Regions from separate parts of the Homo sapiens genome. Here all the other regions are linked to region 3. The links are contacts of gene promoters, found by promoter capture Hi-C in blood cells and fetal thymus (Javierre and others, 2016). All regions are on one chromosome and are shown on one strand. The core of a region is centred on a gene start or on the middle of the fragment in contact, and the rest is flanking DNA. Distances in the headings are between cores, read along the strand shown.

Region 1 (2,700 bases), core at 157-2,656, about 10 Mb after region 3:
CCTGACCTAAGGTGATCCACCTGCCTCAGCCTCCCAAAGTGCTGGGATTACAGGCGTGAGTCACCATGCCTGGCCTCAAATTTGTCTTGTAGCTGAAGACCCGTCATTTAAACTTGTTACTCCATAGGATGGACAACAACAATAACAATTGCTGAATGAGTGCTTGTTAGGTGCTAGGTATTACAATACATGCTTTATATAATGAGTATCTCAACGAACCTCTATAATGGATATTTGTGTAGATTCACATACATATTCTTACATAGACTTTACAGGGGTGTATACTGATGTTCAGAGAGGTTAGGTGGTTTGTTCAAGATCTGTGGCAGAACCTGGACTTAAACTCAGTTCTATGCCTGTGTTTATAACTGTTGGGCCATGTACCCCTCATTGTGAAGATTGGAATTAAATAACTCTGTACTGTTCTATTAGTGCCTACAGGATAAGTGCTACGTGGCCCCAAGATGTCATTCATATATGACAATACAAAAGCTGGTTAGATAACATGGCAACAATAAAAAGTTGTGGACTATTCAGTGAAGTTATGGGCTATTCAATACAGTTTAGGATTTTTAAAAAATCATTTTAGGCATGCAAAATAACTATCAGATTTTATTCATTTGAAATAATAATTTTATGTTATATTGTGAGTCTCACAGTGACTTTGTAAGGCATTATATCCTCACTTTGTAGATGAGGTTATGAAGGCTTAGAGAAGTTCAGCTGCATCCTAAAGACGCCACAGTTAAGTAAGAGAGTTAAGTGACTTGGCTGAAACCTAGATTTGCTGATTGAAAGGTCAGAGCTCTTTTCCTTTATACCACAAATTGAAGCTGTCATTTGGGGCATGAAACTAATAACTGTTTTTTGTGTTTTTTTTAATTTAGATAAAATTTTATGATATAAAACTTACCTTTTTAAATTATGAAATTCAGGTTTTTAGTATATTTGTGATGTTGTTACAATATCTAACCTCACCACTATCTAACTCTAGAACATTTTCATTACACCAAAAAGAATTTTGTACCTGTTAGCAGCCACTCTCAATTATCCCCAACCCCTGGTAAGCACTAATTTACTTTCTGTCTCTATGGATTTGCCTACTCTGGACATTTTGTATAACTGGAACAAGACAATATGTGTCTTTTTGTGTCTGACATCTTCACTTAGCATAATGTTTCAAGATTCATCCACATTGTAGCGTACATCAGTGATGATTCCTTTTTATGGCCAAATAATATTTCATTATATCTGTGTGCCACATTCTGATTATTCAAGAGTTGATGGATATTTTGGCTGCTTCTACTTTTTGGATATTAATAATGTTTCTGTGACAGTAAATATACAAGTTTTTAAATGAACATATTTTTCCATTCTCTTGGGTATATACCTAGAGTGGAATTGCTCATAATTACTTTTTGTAAAATAATTAAAATGAAAATGCTTTGAAATGATTTGAATCAGCCAGCGCGGTGGCTCATGCCTGTAATCCCAGCACTTTGGGAGGCCAAGGTGGGCGGTCACCTGAGGTCAGGAGTTTGAGACCAGCCTGGGCAACATGGTGAAACCCCAACTCTACTAAAAATACAAAAATTAGCTGGGTGTGGTGGTGAGCACCTGTAATCCCAGCTACTCAAGAGCCTGAGGCAAGAGAATTGCTTGAACCGCCTGGGAGGCAGAGGTTGCAGTGGGCCAAGAACGCGCCACTGCACTCCAGCCTGGGCAACAAGAGTGAGACCCGGGCAACAAGAGTGAGACCCGGGCAACAAGAGTGAGACCCGTTCTCAAAAAAAAAAAAAAAAAAAAGAAATTATTTTTTTTCTCCCCCCTCACAAAAACACACATAATATTGTGTATTTAGCTAATTCTTATCCCATATCTTTTCTTCAGAAATAAGGCAGAGGCTGGGCGCAGTGGCTCACGCCTGTAATCCCATCACTTTGGGAGGCTGAGACGGGTGGATCAAGAGGTCAGGAGATCGAGACCATTCTGGCTAACATGGTGAAACCCTGTCTCTACTAAAAATACAAAAAATTAGCCAGGCGTGGTGGCGGGCACCTGTAGTCCGAGCTACTCGGGTAGTTGAGGCAGGAGAATGGCGTGAGCCCGGGAGGCAGAGCTTGCAGTGAGCCAAGATTGTGCCACTGCACTCCAGCCTGGGTGACAGAGCGAGACTCCGTCTCAAAAAAAAAAAAAAGAAAGAAAGAAAGAAATAAGGCAGAAGCAGACTTAGACTTTAGCTCAGAGGCTGGACAAGTAGTCTTTAATTCCAGATGAATAGTCTGTGTTTAACACTGCCTCCTCCATTGAAGGCACTATGGAAAGCGAATAAGAATCCTGATGCAAGTCATATTCAATTAATGGAATTAAGAAAGGTCCATGTCCTTTAAAGGCAAAATAGAATGACATCAAGGTCAGCAAGAAGCTGTCAGGTACTTTCTATACATGAAGAAGGAAGAGATTACTTCCGTACTAGGGAGATGGGGTAACATGGAGATGGAGTTTGAACTGAGTCTTGAATTGTGGATACCTTTTCAGCAGGCGTGGTGGACATAATCAATGTATTTTTTGGCCTACAGACATAGTGAACAAAATGTAGGATATTCAGGGATAGTGGCAAATCAAAAGCCTTAGAGCCACATAACAGGAGGTTTGAACTTTGAACAGTAGATAGTGAGGAACCATTTAAGATATTTGAAT
Region 2 (2,700 bases), core at 130-2,629, about 19 Mb after region 3:
TCCAGCCCGGGCAACAAGAGCGAAACTCAGTCTCAAAAAAAAAAAAAAAAAAAGAAGGAAAGAAAGAAAAGCAGAGTTTCTCAACCAAGACGCTGTCGGCTTTGGGGGCCGGAGAAGTCTTAGTTGCGGGGGGCTGTCTTGGCCATTGTAGGATGTTGAGCAGCATAACCGGCCTCTACCCACTACCAGAAGCACCCACTCCCCACTTTCAACAACCAAAAATGTCCCATACATTGCCAAATGTCCCCGGGGGGTCGTGGGTGCAAAATCACCTCCAACTGAGAGCACTACTGCTTTAAAGAGATAGCAATAATGAAAAGATTAAAGCATCAAAGCACTTTAGAACAGGAAGGGATTTTAAGGAGCCTGAGAACCCGTGATTCTCAAACTTTGCTAGGTATCAGCCTCCCTGGGGAGTTTGTTAAAAATGCGGCACCTGGACCTCACCCCAGACCTATCAATAGAGTCAAGTGTTGGGTTCTGCCCCAGCACCAACATCCTCATTCTACAGCTAAGTTAACGTCGGCCAGAGAGGGAAAATGCCTTGCCCAAGGTCACAGGGCGAGTTAGAACCTGGACTCCAAAACCAACCAAGCCCTTCCTTACAACAAGGAGAGTGTGCTATTCTTACGTCTTTGAGGCAGCAGAACCTAAAAATGGTTAAGACGGTGCATTCCGGAGCCAGCCGGCCCGAGTTAAAATCCCGACTTGGCATTTATCAGCGGGGCGGCCTCGCACAAGGCACGTAGCGTCTGAGGACCTGTTTCCTTCTCTGTCCAGTGGAAAAGTAACAGTACCTACCCACCAGCGTTATTGGAAAGGTGAAGAGAGAAGATATTTAAAAAGCCCGTCGCACGGTAAGCACTCGATACGTGTCCTATTATTAGGACTGTCCCACACCTGCAAAGTGGAAGGGGTCTGGGGATCCCGGGGACAGAGGGCTGGAAATGGGCTCAGGGAGGCGAAACGACCCCCGATTCCCCGAAGTCCCCACCGGGAGACGGACCCCCGCCCCGCCCCTCACCTGGCCCTGCAGCTCCTTCTCGAGCTGCCGGTAGTCGTTTTTCCAGACTAGGAGGTGCAGGGGGTAGTGGTCGCCCGCGTCGCAGGCCGAGGACATGGCGAGGAGGCCGTAACCTGGTCCTCGTCGCCCGCCCCAAGTCTCGGCCCCGGCGGGGTCTCCCGCGCCCGCCTGCCTGCCCTGAGGCCGGCGAGCAAGCGAGCGTAGGGCGTGTTACGCTGCCGGCCGGCTGAGCCGGTCGGGTGCGGGGCGCGCGGGAGGTCCGGGGTCGCCGGCCGGCTCAGGGACCAGGTCGGCCGCGCCCACCCCGCGCCCCGCGGCGTTCCCGCCCGCGCTGACAGCTCGCGGACAGACTTCTGCGGACCTAACTGCCCCAAACAGGGAAGTGCGGAGAGCGAACCACCGCATGCCGCGGCGGGGATAGGCGACCTTGGGCACCGGGTCCGGGGTCCGCGCCATTGCACCCACCTCCAGCTCACACCGAGAAACTCAGTGCAGCCCACAGAACAGAGCTGAGGCTCATTCTCTTGGCCAAAGATCTCCACGCGGAAAGTTCCGTCTACCTGTCCCCAGCTTCTTTCCCCCTGCTCCAGTAGCCCCATGTGGTTCGGTCCACAACTGGGCCTCTTCCATTGGCTCTGAAGTCAGGGGGTGACAACTGAGCCCCGGACCAAACCATTCCAGCTGCCGACACCCTTGCAGCCTTTTTGGAGCAGGACAGATGCTTCCACGACGGGTCAAAAGCCATTTTGGAAGTGGGCAACACCGGACAATTTTTGAAGGAGGAACGCTAAACCCTGGCGAAGTGGCTTCAAATACAGTATTTGCATAAAAGGGGATATTTCTACTTCATGATTTCTCAACCTCGGCACATATTGAACTGGGCAGTTTTTGTGTGGGGGTTGTCCGGTCCTTGTAGGATGCTGAGCAGTTGCCCTGGTCTTTCTCCCCACTCAATGCCAGTAGCACTCCCCAAAACATGTCTCTCCAGATATTGCCAAATGTCGTCTCGGGGAGAAAAATCGTCCTCAGTTGAGAACCGCTTCTATTTGAACTCCGAACCGGGTTATGATTCAATAGCTAACTATGGTGGTGATTTAGTCCATGTATGAATGTCATTTTTAAGCTAGCTTTTTGGATTTGAGGTTATGGCTGAAAGGACTGATAAATAATATACATATTTGACCACAGTCTGCGAATATGAAGTTTATTCTTTGAGTTTCAGGCACTATGCCTCCTTGACTCAATGAAGAACCAAATCAACTTACAGCTAGCTACTCATGGGCTTGAACTTTCTGCTGCTGCTTCAGCTCAGCTGTCTACAACTAGACCACATAGCTGGATGAAGCTATTTAATGCATTGTGAAAACATTCCCTCTGCCCTCTGAGTGTATGCACATCCAGCTCTTCAGATGCCTGCAACAACAGCTGTTCAAGAATCCCAACCTAATCCATTCTCCACAGATGTGGAGCCCAGAAGATTTGTGAGTTGTTAAACCAAAACAGGATGCAGGAGCACCAGGATGGCACCCGGAGACTCTAACCATGGAATGCGTGGGAATTCTGTGATTATTTCTCCATCACACATTTATCACACTGTAGAGATGGACTCAAGACCAGTGCTTCTGAGGCCTTTTCCAGCACTTCTCATTCTTTCAGATGCCTTTTGCAACTTAACG
Region 3 (2,700 bases), core at 88-2,587:
CCTCGGCCTCCCAAAGTGCTGGGATTGTAGACGTGAGCCACCATCCCAGGCCGGGGTCTCAATTTCTGAAGCCATGCTGAGGGCCATTTTTGGGCGGCACTCTTTCACTCCACTATGTGCCAGGCGCTGTCCCAGAGGCAGGGGGCACAGTGAGGAACAAAACACAAGAGAATCCTGCCATCAGGAAGCTTACACCTGTTAACACATGCAGGTTGGGGAGATAAACGAATAAATTAAAAAATGTAACAGGTAATAAGGAGAAAAGAGTAACATGATGGAATGGGATACTCGGGCCTTGGACAGGCTAGTGAAAAAAATGTTTCTCTGAAGTCAACACTTCGGTGGAAGGTTGAAGGATGAGAAGCCAGCCATGCAACCATAGATGGTGTAGGGGCAGTCTCTGGGAAAGCCTGAAACAGGCTGGAGCTTGCCTTGTTCTAAGCCAGTGAGTCTCAATGGGGGCGTATTTGCCCCCAGGAGTCCTTCGGCAAAGTCTAGAAGACATTTTCGGTTGTTAACCTGAGGTGCTAGGGGGTGGAACTGGCCCCTAGTGGATAGCAGAGGCCAAAGCTGCTGCTGAACATCGTGCAACGCACAGGACAGTCCCGTCGCTCAAAGTGCCAACGATGCACGGGTTGAGAAACCGGGTCCTCTCCAGGACTGAAGCCCAGGGCAGGGAGCACGGGGGCAGCCTGAGCAAACCCGCCTGGAGAGCAGCCGCCGTCTCAGTGTGAGTTTTGGCTGCCTACTGGGCCCCACCGAAGCCCGAAGAGGGCCAGGCTCCGGCTTCTTTGTTTAAACTCCCTTAGTCCGACTGCCTGCAGTGGCTCATGCACGTAATTCCAACACTATGGGAGGCTGAGACGTGAGGAACGCTTGATGCCAGGAGTTCGAGACCAACCTGAGCAACAAAGCGAGACCCCATTTCAAAAAACTGTTTAAAAATTAGCCACAGGCAGCGGCGAGCGCCTGCGGTCCCAGCTACCCGGGAGGCTGAGGTGGGAGGGCCGCTTGATCCTGGGAAGCTGAGGCTGCAGTGAGGCGTAACCGCATGACTGCGCTCCAGCCTGGGCGAGAGAGGGAAACCCTGTCTCAAAAAGGCAAACAAAGGCTCTCGGCCGCCAAGCTGCGGAATCCCAAGCTCCCCAAGACACGCAGTGATCCAGAATACCGGCCACCTCCTCGCCTAGTGCCCGGGGCGGGGCCGGAAGTTCCGGCGAGTGGGGCGTTGAGCAGCGGCGAGCCCGCCCAATAGGGACATCTCAGGCCCGGCAGTCTCGCGAGAAGGGCGGCGGCCCTGGGTTCTGGGACAGGTGACCCGGCGGCGGGGCGAGGCAGCTGGCGGCGTCGCATGGAGGGCTCTGGGGGCGGTGCGGGCGAGCGGGCGCCGCTGCTGGGCGCGCGGCGGGCGGCGGCGGCCGCGGCGGCGGCTGGGGCGTTCGCGGGCCGGCGCGCGGCGTGCGGGGCCGTGCTGCTGACGGAGCTGCTGGAGCGCGCCGCTTTCTACGGCATCACGTCCAACCTGGTGCTATTCCTGAACGGGGCGCCGTTCTGCTGGGAGGGCGCGCAGGCCAGCGAGGCGCTGCTGCTCTTCATGGGCCTCACCTACCTGGGCTCGCCGTTCGGAGGCTGGCTGGCCGACGCGCGGCTGGGCCGGGCGCGCGCCATCCTGCTGAGCCTGGCGCTCTACCTGCTGGGCATGCTGGCCTTCCCGCTGCTGGCCGCGCCCGCCACGCGAGCCGCGCTCTGCGGTTCCGCGCGCCTGCTCAACTGCACGGCGCCTGGTCCCGACGCCGCCGCCCGCTGCTGCTCACCGGCCACCTTCGCGGGGCTGGTGCTGGTGGGCCTGGGCGTGGCCACCGTCAAGGCCAACATCACGCCCTTCGGCGCCGACCAGGTGAGCCGCGCCCCCGCGCGCTGTCCCTGTCCCTGTCCAGCCCCTGCCCAGCCCCAGCCTCTTCCCCTGCCCCAGTCCCTGCCTCTGACCGCGGAGGGAGCCCCTTGCCCCGGGGGGCTTCTGTCTAGTGCCGAGGAATCCCGCCAGCAGGTGGGCCAAGACTGGAGGTACCGGTGTGATGGGTGCTGGAAGGGGTTTGCCTGGGGCGGGGTGAGGTCTACACACACAGTGATGGCCACAGTGGCTTTAAAGAAAAGAGAGGCCGGGCGCGGTGGCTCACGCCTGTAATTCCAGCACTTTGGGAGGCCGAGGCGGGAGGATCTCTTGAGCCCAGGACTTTGAGACCAGGTTGGGCAACACAGTGAGACCTCATCTCTACCAAAATTTAAAAATTTGCCCTCCGTGGAGGCGCACACCTGTAGTCCTAGCAGAGAAAGGAGGATTCCTTGAGCCTACGAGTTTCGGAGGCTGCAGTGAGCTAGGGTCACACCAGTGCACTCTAGCTTGGGTAACAGAGTGAGACCCCACCTCAAAAAAATAAATAAATAAAATTTAAAAAATACGCTGAGCGCAGTGGCTCACGCCTGTAATCCCAACACTTTGGGAGGCCGAGGTGGGTGGATCACCTAAGGTCAGGAGTTCGAGACCAGCCTGACCAGCCTGGCTAAAAATACAAAAATTAGCCGAGCGTGGTGGCGGGCACCTGTTCTCTCAGCTAGTCGGGAGGCTGAGGCAGGAGAATCGCTTGCACCCGGGAGGCAGAGGTGCGATGAGCCGAGATCGCGCCACTCCACTCCTCCAGC
Region 4 (2,700 bases), core at 189-2,688, about 13 Mb after region 3:
AGTTCCAAAACTCAGTTCACGTGTCTTAAGACTTCTCTTATTATACACTCTCATCTCTTCCCTGCTTTCTACTCTTCCTTTTTTTTTTTTTTTTTTTTTTTGAGACAGGGCCTCTCTCTGTCACTCAGGCTGGAGTACGGTGATGCGACCTCGGCTCACTGGGCTCACTGCAGCCTCTGCCTCCAGGGCTCAAGTTATCCTCCCACCTCAGCCTTTCGAGTAGCTAGGGCTACAGGCACATGCCACACTACGCCTGGCTAATTTTTGTATTTTTGTATTTTATTTTTTTTGTCATGACGGGGGTTCTTGCTACATTGCTCAGGCTGGTCTTAAACCTCGGCTAGGATTACCGGCGTGAGCCACTGTGCCAGCCATCCACTCTTCCTCTTTTAGCTTAATCTACCTGAAACAGCTGATTGTTCCATGTTTGGAGGCGTATTAGTGAAGACATTGTTTTCTCCTCCCCCTTTTCGGGGATCCATTTCTTGAGGACTGGGAGAGCTTCTCTTCATAGCAGCACTCCTCCGGACTCCCAGGCCATATACACTCAGGAAATGTTGGTTATCCAATGAATGACGCCAGGAAGAAGGGTCTGCTCCCAACACGGCCTTAGCACAGTGCCTGGAAGTTATAACAGATTCTGGCACACAGCAGGAGCTCAGGAAACATTTATGTAATGAATGAATGAATGAATGAATGAGTGCACACAGTAACTAGGAGTAAGGGCTCAATAAACATTTCTGTATTAAACGCACAGTGTCTGGAACACAGTAAGCGCTCCGTCTATGGCAGCCGTGAATATCCCTGGGCGAAGCCTGTGAAACCTTGTCCAAGAGCTTGGCTTCACTGTGCGCGGGTTCGAATCTGGACTCCTCTTCCCAAGTGTGCGACCTCGGGCAAGTGATTTAATCCCTTTGTGCTTTAGTTTTCTCCTCTGCAAAAGGCGGACGGCGGCGCGAGCCTCTGAGGACACATTCCCCAGGGCACTCGGACCCGCTGCCTGGCCCACATCGCGGCCGCCGCGCCACGCCAGCCGGCCTGGGCTGCGAGGGCACAGGCCGGGGGTCCCGCGCCCTCCTCCGCGGCCACCACGGGCGCGCCCGGGACCCACGGTCCCGCCCCGCCACGATCAGTGCACCGCGAGGGGGCGGGGCGGCCACGAGGGGCAGCCCACGGCAGCCACGGGCCGGCAGTCCGCCGCCCGCCGGGGAGCCCGGCCGCCCGCACTTCTTTCTCTCCCTCTCTGCCTCCCTCCCTCCCTCTTCCCGGCCGGAGGACCCGGCCGCGCTCAGCTCAGCAGCGCCTCCCGCGAGCCGCCGCCGCCGCCGCCACTCCGGACCCCTCCCCCGCCCGCCCCTCGCTCCCCCCGCGCGGCCGGCGCCCGTCACGTGACCAAGCGCCAGCCAATGGCGGGCCGAGCCGCGGTCGGCGGCCGCCATTGCTGTCAGAGCAAGCGAGCCCGGGGAGGGAGGAGAAGCGAGGCTGACTGGGGAGGAGGGGGGGGTGGGGGAGGAAGAGGAAGGAGGGGACGTCGCTCGGCTGCCGGGGTCGCCCGCTGGCTTCGTCCGCACCCCCCCCTTCGCGAGTTCGCGCTCCGCGGCGGCGGCGGCTCCGAGGCGGCGGCGGCGGCTCCGGGGCTCGCCTCCCCTCGCGCGCCGGCGGGGGCCGAGGGGGAGTCGGTGGCTGGAGATAAACAAGGCGGCGGCAGCGGCAGCAGCGGCGGCGGCGGCGGCTGAGGAGCAGGGAAGGCGGAGGCGGTGGCCGGCCCGCAGCGCCGGCCCGGGGCGCGCGCCCCCCCCGCCAGCCCGGGCCCGCTGCCCCCGGCGCGGCGTCGCCGCGGCGCCTCCCGCCTGCCCGCCGGCCCTCGCGCCCTCCCCCGGCGGCGGCGGCGGCCCGGCCGCCCCGCGCTCCCCGGCGAGGCGCCGCCGCCCGGCCCGGCCTCGCCTCGGACGCCTCGCTCCGACATGCCCCGCTCTGGCGGCCGGGCTCGCGGAGGATCATGACTGCGGCAGCGAACTGGGTGGCGAACGGGGCGAGCCTGGAGGATTGTCACTCCAACCTCTTTTCGCTGGTGAGTAGCCGGGCTGCGGGGAGGGGGCTGTGCCGGGGAAGGGGGGGGGTCCCCGACCTCCGCCGCCGACCAACTTTCTCCTCCCGCCGCCGGGACTTCGCCCCTCCCTCGCGTCTCCCCGCCGTTCGCCTCTCGCCGATTCTCCCCCTTTTGGATCGTCTCTCTCTCGCCTTGGATCCCATCCAGTGTTTATTTGGCTCTTTAAAAATCATTTGTGAGCGCGGCGCTCGGCGTGGAATTTGCATGTGGAAGTCTCGGAGCTGCGGATTCTGGGTCGCACTTCGAACGCCCACCCTCTGTTGCAATCGCACTCCCCTTCTCCTCCCCTTTCCCCCCTTTTTTTCCCCCCGTAAATGTGGAAGGCTTTGCCTTGTGCTGCCGCGCCTCCGATCGGCAACCTCTTCCCCCGTTGTTGGATCAGCTGCCTGCCCGCCCGCCTGCCTTTTGAATTTTTTTAAATTCCATAATGACACCTGCAATTTCGCCCTAAAATAGTTGATTGAATGCGATTGTGTCAGGAAAGGACTCTTGCACCCGAAGCTCCCGCGATTGTAAACATCGACAGCCGCCTGCCTCTCGGGGCTTACTATGCTGGAGAGCCGTAAAGCCATTGCACCGAGCCGACGGAA

What was found. The method cuts DNA at HindIII sites, captures the fragments that hold promoters and counts their contacts. A CHiCAGO score of 5 or more calls a contact.
Region 1: a fragment that was not itself captured here is called in contact with the fragment with the promoter of SLC15A4 in region 3 in 1 of 17 cell types (M0 macrophages); the score reaches 9.1 in M0 macrophages.
Region 2: the fragment with the promoter of ANKRD13A here is called in contact with the fragment with the promoter of SLC15A4 in region 3 in 1 of 17 cell types (neutrophils); the score reaches 7.8 in neutrophils.
Region 4: a contact is called between the fragment with the promoter of MED13L here and the fragment with the promoter of SLC15A4 in region 3, in 1 of 17 cell types (neutrophils). The highest score is 10.0, in neutrophils.

Annotation. Positions count from the first base shown.
Region 1 is chr12:118,347,952-118,350,651 of GRCh38, reverse strand. All of the region lies in intron 1 of TAOK3 (TAO kinase 3), which reads left to right. Among named protein-coding and RNA genes, the nearest start is that of TAOK3, 24 kb to the left of the region's middle. The HindIII fragment of the contact is 4,674 bases long and covers 1-2,700 here.
Region 2 is chr12:109,998,109-110,000,808 of GRCh38, reverse strand. ANKRD13A (ankyrin repeat domain 13A) reads right to left here and starts at 1,379. Exons shown (of 15, transcript NM_033121.2): 1 at 1,025-1,379. The coding sequence starts at 1,120. It also overlaps a transcript of GIT2 not described here. RefSeq lists silencers at 1,166-1,255, 1,266-1,385 and an enhancer at 1,466-1,655. The HindIII fragment of the contact is 22,332 bases long and covers 1-2,700 here.
Region 3 is chr12:128,822,595-128,825,294 of GRCh38, reverse strand. It overlaps SLC15A4 (solute carrier family 15 member 4), which reads left to right and starts at 1,337. Exons shown (of 8, transcript NM_145648.4): 1 at 1,337-1,897. The coding sequence starts at 1,352. It overlaps LOC124903083 (a long non-coding RNA gene), which reads right to left and starts at 1,351. Exons shown (of 2, transcript XR_007063602.1): 1 at 1-1,351. RefSeq lists an enhancer at 1,427-1,586. The HindIII fragment of the contact is 5,029 bases long and covers 191-2,700 here.
Region 4 is chr12:116,276,431-116,279,130 of GRCh38, reverse strand. It overlaps MED13L (mediator complex subunit 13L), which reads left to right and starts at 1,438. Exons shown (of 31, transcript NM_015335.5): 1 at 1,438-2,071. The coding sequence starts at 2,000. RefSeq lists silencers at 1,030-1,089, 1,140-1,609. The HindIII fragment of the contact is 4,130 bases long and covers 1-2,700 here.